2 separate regions of the Homo sapiens genome follow, and region 1 is linked to region 2. Evidence: promoter capture Hi-C in 16 types of primary human blood cells and fetal thymus (Javierre and others, 2016). All regions are on one chromosome and are shown on one strand. The core of a region is centred on a gene start or on the middle of the fragment in contact, and the rest is flanking DNA. Distances in the headings are between cores, read along the strand shown. Region 1 overlaps PTK2B (protein tyrosine kinase 2 beta). Region 2 holds the start of BNIP3L (BCL2 interacting protein 3 like).

The links. Contacts are between HindIII fragments. The CHiCAGO score rates a contact against its expected background, and 5 or more counts as called.
Region 1: a contact is called between a fragment that was not itself captured here and the fragment with the promoter of BNIP3L in region 2, in 1 of 17 cell types (neutrophils). The highest score is 6.9, in neutrophils.

What each region holds. Positions count from the first base shown.
Region 1 is chr8:27,390,678-27,393,931 of GRCh38, reverse strand. All of the region lies in intron 1 of PTK2B (protein tyrosine kinase 2 beta), which reads right to left. Among named protein-coding and RNA genes, the nearest start is that of MIR6842, 41 kb to the left of the region's middle. RefSeq lists enhancers at 622-761, 1,074-1,203. The HindIII fragment of the contact is 4,590 bases long and covers 1-3,254 here.
Region 2 is chr8:26,381,359-26,384,819 of GRCh38, reverse strand. BNIP3L (BCL2 interacting protein 3 like) reads right to left here and starts at 1,766. Exons shown (of 6, transcript NM_004331.3): 1 at 1,590-1,766. The coding sequence starts at 1,689. It also overlaps the pseudogene SDAD1P1. RefSeq lists a silencer at 1,017-1,606 and enhancers at 1,817-2,116, 2,090-3,289. The HindIII fragment of the contact is 3,600 bases long and covers 1-2,587 here.

The sequences.
Region 1 (3,254 bases), core at 270-2,769, 1.0 Mb before region 2:
CAACACACATACAGCAGGTCCCAGCTTCAGGATATACTGTATCTAGTGAGCCTATGGCCCTGAGGCCCCTGGACATCTTTGGCGATCATGATGTGTCCACGCAGGTTCATGGACTGTGACAAATGCGCCACTCTGGGGGGTGAGGGATGTTGATAGTGGGGGAAGCGGTGCTTGTGTCAGGGCAGGGTGCATGTGGGAACACTCTGCACTTTCGGCTCAATTTTGCTGTGAAACAAAAACTTCTCTAAAAATAGTCTATTAAGAAAAAAATGTAGCAATGAGAAACCACACCCTGATAGTTGTCCTCCCATTCCGCAGCCTGGCTGGGCAGGGTCTAGCCCACTCAGGAGCCAACTCCCATATCGGTCCTGACCAAAGAGAAAGATTCACACTGTACATCAGACCCAATGCAGCCCACCCAGACACATCATCAGCGTGCTTGGAGGACTCTGGTGTCTTATCTTCCTCACTCTCCCTTGGCCCCTGATTCAAGAGCCACTAACTGCAGTCACCAACATAGCTCAAGGAGAAATATTTCAGCAGTCATTTCTGTCACCCAGAATCTACCTCTACCTTCAGCCTGATGCAAGTTCCTCAGTTCTCCCTTTAGCCCTTTGCAGCAGAAACATCTGCTGTGGATGCTCATTCCAAAAGTAATTACAATTTAAAAATCTATACAGAAACACAAGTTCTTTGCACAACAATCTGCTGCCCAATCCTGGGAGGTGGGCAGGAGTGAAGATGGCCATTTTACAGATGGTGACACACTCAAAAAGGTCTAAGCCATTTGGTCAAGGATTCATGCCTGCTAAGTAGCAAACTTAGATCCCAAACCAGGTTTTAATCAAAACCCACAGTTTCTCCCACTTCCCCAGCTGCCTTGGAAGAAGGTGAAATCCCCTAAGGGCGGCACAAACTCCACGAAAGATAAAGATGACAATTAGCATCGAATATTCCCAGTCAGTGAAGAATCCAGAACCTCTCCTGGCTTAGAGATAATCACCCTTCTTGTGCCAGGACTTTGTCTTGAGAGGTCCTAGACGGACTCAACACTAGAATATAGGTTTGATCAAAAGCCTCAGGCCCAGGAAGGTGGTGCCCATGTCTCTATTGACACATGGCAACTTCCTCAAGTGCACCCAAAACTCTGAGCTGTAGACACAGATCTGTAATGAACACTCAGAACTCTTTGAAGCAAAGTAAATGAACGGTTCCATGAAAGGAAGGCATCTGCCACCCCTCTTCAGGTTCTTGAGAGAACATAGCTCTCAATTCCATGCCATCTTCCCTTGCGCTCACCCTGCCTGTGTTCTGCTCCCAGCTCATTTTCTGACTGGCTCTAAAATCTTGTGCAAGTAACTTTACCTATCCCAGCCTCATTTTCCTCCCCTATAAAGTAGGGTAATGCTGCCTACCCTGTTTTCCTCATAGAAGGGTGGTGAAGATGAAGTGAGAAAACATAAGTGAGAGTTCCTCGTAAGCAATAAAGTGGGACACCAGTGAAAGGCTCTATCATCATGACTATTTTCACTTGCCTTTTTTCCAAAATCTTGTCTGATGACCTGTATTCCCTGTATCTTGCTCCTCCTGTCAGTAGTGCTCCAGAAAAAAAAAAAAAAAAGCTCGCTTTGTAGAACTTGCCAATTTCCGTAGTGTAAAAATTCCCACCATGACTGACCTTCAGGTACCAATGCACATCACCACTGAATGCTGAGTTGGGAAGAGATGAGAACAATCTGCTGACTCCAGCTCTTCTTCTTGATGATAGAACTTGTTCACGCCTCTAAATATTGTCTGATTATTTGAACTACTCGTCAATAGCCTATCTCTGGCCTTTAATGATCACAAAATCCTCTGATGCTCAACTCATGAGCCAAAAACTCTGCCCCTTTCTCCAGACCTTCCTGGCTCTCCAAGCCCTGGCATTCTGTCCTCCCTGCTTCCTGGTCTGCCCCAGACCGTCGGAGCAGAGTCAGAGGAGACTACATCCTGTGGCACCAGTGAAAACCCTGGCTCTGAGCCATCCTGGGCTTCGGTTTGCCTCCTGGCCCCCAAATCTGCCACAATCAAAGTCAAAGAATAACAAACACAAGAAATGGGCTCAAATTAAAACAGGAAAACTTCTGATTGTCTGTAAGAACTTCTTGGCCAAAATCTGCAAAGGGTACTACAGGAGGATGGACAATCTCTGAGTTCTTAAGATCTTCAGGAAGAAAATAAATTATGCTCTTCCTGAATGGCAAGACATTGACCTGCCTGCAGGAGGGGGAACTGAAGCAGCATTTACGTCCCCTCCAGATGCACCAGGTTGTAACTGCACCTAGTACTGTGCCCCTGGCACAGGGGAGATGCTAGGGTTACAGGAATAAATATCACAGGAAAACTTAACTCTTGCCTTTGAAGACATTGTAGGGTAATGTTACACATGTTGTGTTCAGTAAACAGCTTAGCCTCTTGGGGAGGCAGACACCAGAGGGGATGCTGAGAGTCCCAAACATAAAATGCATGGTCTTGAGGACTGAAAGTTCTGTTCCTGGCTGGGTGCAGTGGCTCACGACTGTAATCCTAGCATTTTGGGAGGCTGAGGTGGGCAGATCACTTGAAATCAGGAGTTTGAGATCAGCCTGATCAACATGGTGAAACCCCTTCTCTACTAAAAATACAAAAATTAGTTGGGTGTGGTGGCACGTGCCTGTAATCCCAGCTACTCGGGAGGCTGAGACAAAAGAATCCCTTGAACCCGGGAGACGGAGCTTGCAGTGAGCCGAGATTGCACCGAGCCGAGATTGCACCATTGCACTCCAGACTGGGGGAAAAGAGCGAAACTTCACCTCAAGAAAAAAAAAAAAAAGGTTCTGTTCCTGATTTGAGAGAGAGTGGAAAGGGGCCCATTAGTCAGAAAGGCCGTATGATGTCAGGGAGAAGGCGCGTACATTTAACTCATTCAAACCTGGATTTAAACCACTTTCTTCAGGGCTGGTAAGCCATACAACTGGGCCATTACGTGAGTGTGACAACATGGCAGCCTTGAGTCTCTGCCATGGACCCGTTGTGTGATCTGGACAAGATAATCTCTGTAGGCCTCAGTTTCCTCCATTGGGGCATGAGGTCACTATTACTTATCCTGCAGAATTTTCTGGAGTATCAGAGGTTACTTCCATTACTTCTGCAAACTCCTTGGCACATACATTTTTTAAGTGTCTGTGACTTGGAAGAAGAGAGAATTAGAAACATAATACTAAGACCCACTTTTT
Region 2 (3,461 bases), core at 517-3,016:
AGGCTGAGGCAGAAGAATCGCTTGAACCTGGGAGGCGGAGGTTGTAGACAGAGCGAGACTCTACCTCAAAAAAAAAAAAAAAAAAAAAAAAATGTCCTCAAAAGAGCAGTAGACAGGCTGAACATGAGAACCTCTGCTTTGCTCCCAGCCGGTTGTGAACTTGGACAAGGCCATTTACTCTAGACCTGTTTCTCTACAGGCAAACAACAGGAGGCAGTTAGCTAGCTCTGAAGTTTCTTCCCATTCTAAAATCTAAGACAGTATGCTAAACATGGGCAAATAACTTAAAATTGCATAGGAATATGTGATACAAGTAACGTTTAAAGACTCATACATTCATCCTAATTTACTGTGGGAAATAATATAACCATCTTACATTCTGGAATATATGACACTTAAAGGTTTTGGGAATTAACCCATCAAAACCTGGAGCAGCAGCATCCATCTTAAAATCTCCAAACTCCATCGCTACCTGGTGAGGGCTGAAACTCTCTTCCCTAAAATAATCTTCAGGCCACACTGGAAGCACCTCCCTCTTACGAAAGATACTGCATGACCTTTAAGCATCCAAGTGGTTTTGAAAAGACTTCATCTGGCCATATGCTCACTGCTCCCATTACCTCTTTCCCAAGAGTTGAATTAAAGAAAGGTTAGGCAAGAACCCTTCCAAGAAGGCTCCCGGTTCTCACGACTAGGAACAATCTGAGGACAAGATGTCTGGGCAGCGGAATGTTATGAAAAGACCCTGGCCTGGGTTGTCTATCAGCCTCGTCCGTTAACTTTCAACTGCCCGAGTGCGTTTTTAATTCCGTTTCTTTAAATGCATGGCCCCAGACTCCCTGACGTGTGCAATCTTGGGTGGTTCAGGAGGCTGCTCTCAGCTTTACTGGGCGCACAACCCATCGCTTTAAAAAAAAAAAAATCACTTGGGCAACTTCGAGAAATCTAATAAAAAAATAAAAAAGGAAAAAGGAGAAGCAAGGCACAGCCTCTCACCCCACACGTGACTGAAGCCAACCCTAGACGAGCAAATGAATTTTCCTGACAAACGTGTGGCAACAAAGGAATGCTCGCTGGGGGGCTCCCGCGCCCGCCAGACGCTGCCCGCCCGCGAGCCCCGCACACCTGATCCCCGACACGTCCCGCGGCAGCCGCCCGCCCCGCCCCGCTCCCGCGCGTCCATCCCCCGGCGTCCCCGCCGCACGTCCCCATCCCGGCCCACGTCCCCTCCGCGGCCCGCTCCGCCCACCCGGCCTCCCCGCCCCCCAGGCCCGCCCCCGCCCCGCCCCGCCCGGCTCCGCTGCTGGGGACCACCCCCCGCACCAGGGGGATCCGCGCTACCCGCGCCGCTCCCGGACCGCGAGCCCAAACGGCCCCGGGCCCAAGACCCCAGGAGGCAACAGAGAGGCCCGGAGCAAGGCAGGCGCCCCTCCTCTTGACAGGGGACGGGAGCTGTCAGTCACCTGGACATCCCATGCCTGAGCCAATGAGCTGCCTTCTCCTCCCGCCTCCCGCGCCGCGCCGGTGGCGGCGGCCGGGGCTGCTCCTCCTCCCCCATCCCCTTCACAGAGCCTCGGCCCCGCACTCACTGTTGAGGCCGGCCGGCGGGGGCAGAGACTGCTCATTTTCCTCGCAGTTGTTGTTGTTGTTGTGCAGGGGCGGCGGCGGCTCGACTAGGTGGGACGACATTGTCGGACAGCTGGCAGGACTGCGGCAGCAGCAGGACCGTCTCCGGCACTCAGGCAGCAACACAACAAGCCGAGTCCGCCGCCCCCTTTTCTGCGCCTGCGCCGTCCCTCCCCTGCCCCTGACGTCAGGGCCCGCCCAGGCCACGTGATGACAACACAACAAGCGACCGGACGGGGCAGGGGCGCTCCCCTGCGGGCCCCGGACGTGGAGACGCTCGAGTCAGGCTGACGCGCGCGCCGGGAACGAACTCTTGCGTGTGACTTGGGATGACCGGATGGGATGAGTGATGCCAGTGGCAGTGGGAGAGAGGATGAGGAGAAACGGAATGAGGAAGTGCGCTCCTGTGTTCGCGCCCGTGCCTCCTCTCACACAGGCTCCACAGTGCTTCACCCAGCCCTGCGCACGCATCTGTTTTCTACCTCTTAGGACTCACTTCTGCAATAGGTGTCTTGGGGACACAAAGGAATCCCCAAACCCAGGTGCCTCCACGTGTAAACTCCAAATAAAGCTGCTGAAACATCAACACTCCATACGGGAAACAAGGGAAGGCCGCCCCCAAATTTAATTGTTACAGAATTTTTAAAATGTCGATTACAAACACACCATCATTCTGAAAAAAAGAGAAAGAAGAAAGGGGAAGAAAGAAAAAAGAAAAATTCAGGAAAACAGAGAGAAGAAAGTACTCACCCAAATCCCATCGACTAATCGATTTCTGGGACATGACGTGGGAAGCCGTTTATCCTGTACGTGGATGACATTAAACTATGTTCCTGAGCACACCTCCTACTTCACATCTCCATGTCTTCGTCCAGTCTCCTTGGTCTGATTTATGAGTGACATATGTTTCTCGCAGTCTCTAACTTGTCTTTTAATTTGTTTTTTTCACTCTGTAGAAGCTTAAGGTTTTCATGTAATCAGATTTATCATTCTTACATGGCTTGGGGAGACAGTCACACCAAGATTACTAATCTATAATTCCCTTATAACTTTTTCTAATTTTCTTATAGGCTTAACTTTACATTTAGAGCTCTAATCCATCTGAAATTTATTTTCCATATGCTGTAAATTATTTAACTTCAATTCTTCCCAATTTTGTAGCCCATTGACCTAATAATATTAATTTTAAGCCATCCTTTCTACACTGATTTGAAATTGCACCTTTGTCACTCTCTGAATGACCACAAAAATGTGAGTCTGTTTCAGGGCTATCTGCAATACCTCTGTTAGATAACTATTAAAGTTTCTCTTCCTTTGTCTTTTTCAGATGTTAATGGCTAGTTACTCTTCAGATGAACTTAAAAATGGACTTGTCCAAGATTGACCTTGTGTTGGTAATTATTGAAGCTATGTAATACATTAAAGTATTCCTCTAATTTTTTAATATATTTGAAAAAGTCCATGCTAAAAGGTTTTTTTTAAGGATTGATTTGTCAAATCCCTTTGCAAATTCTTTTAAGATTTTGGTCAGAAATGAACTCTATTAATAGATTGAGTGCTGTTTCCGGTCATACCCGGAAGCAGGAGTTCAAGCCGCAGCTGGTAGGGATTGGCGGCTGCTGGCCATCTGAGTTTTATTAAAACTGCTCGCCGCGAAGCCAGTCTTCAGCCAGAATGTCCAGCAGAAACAACAACAAGCTGCCCAGCAACCTGACTGCAGTTACAGAATCTGATGAAGCGAGACCCACCACCCTCCATCTAGGAGTTTCTACAGCAGTATAATCACTACACATCCAATGTGGAGATTTTCAAATTGCAACCATATAAACCCGGTA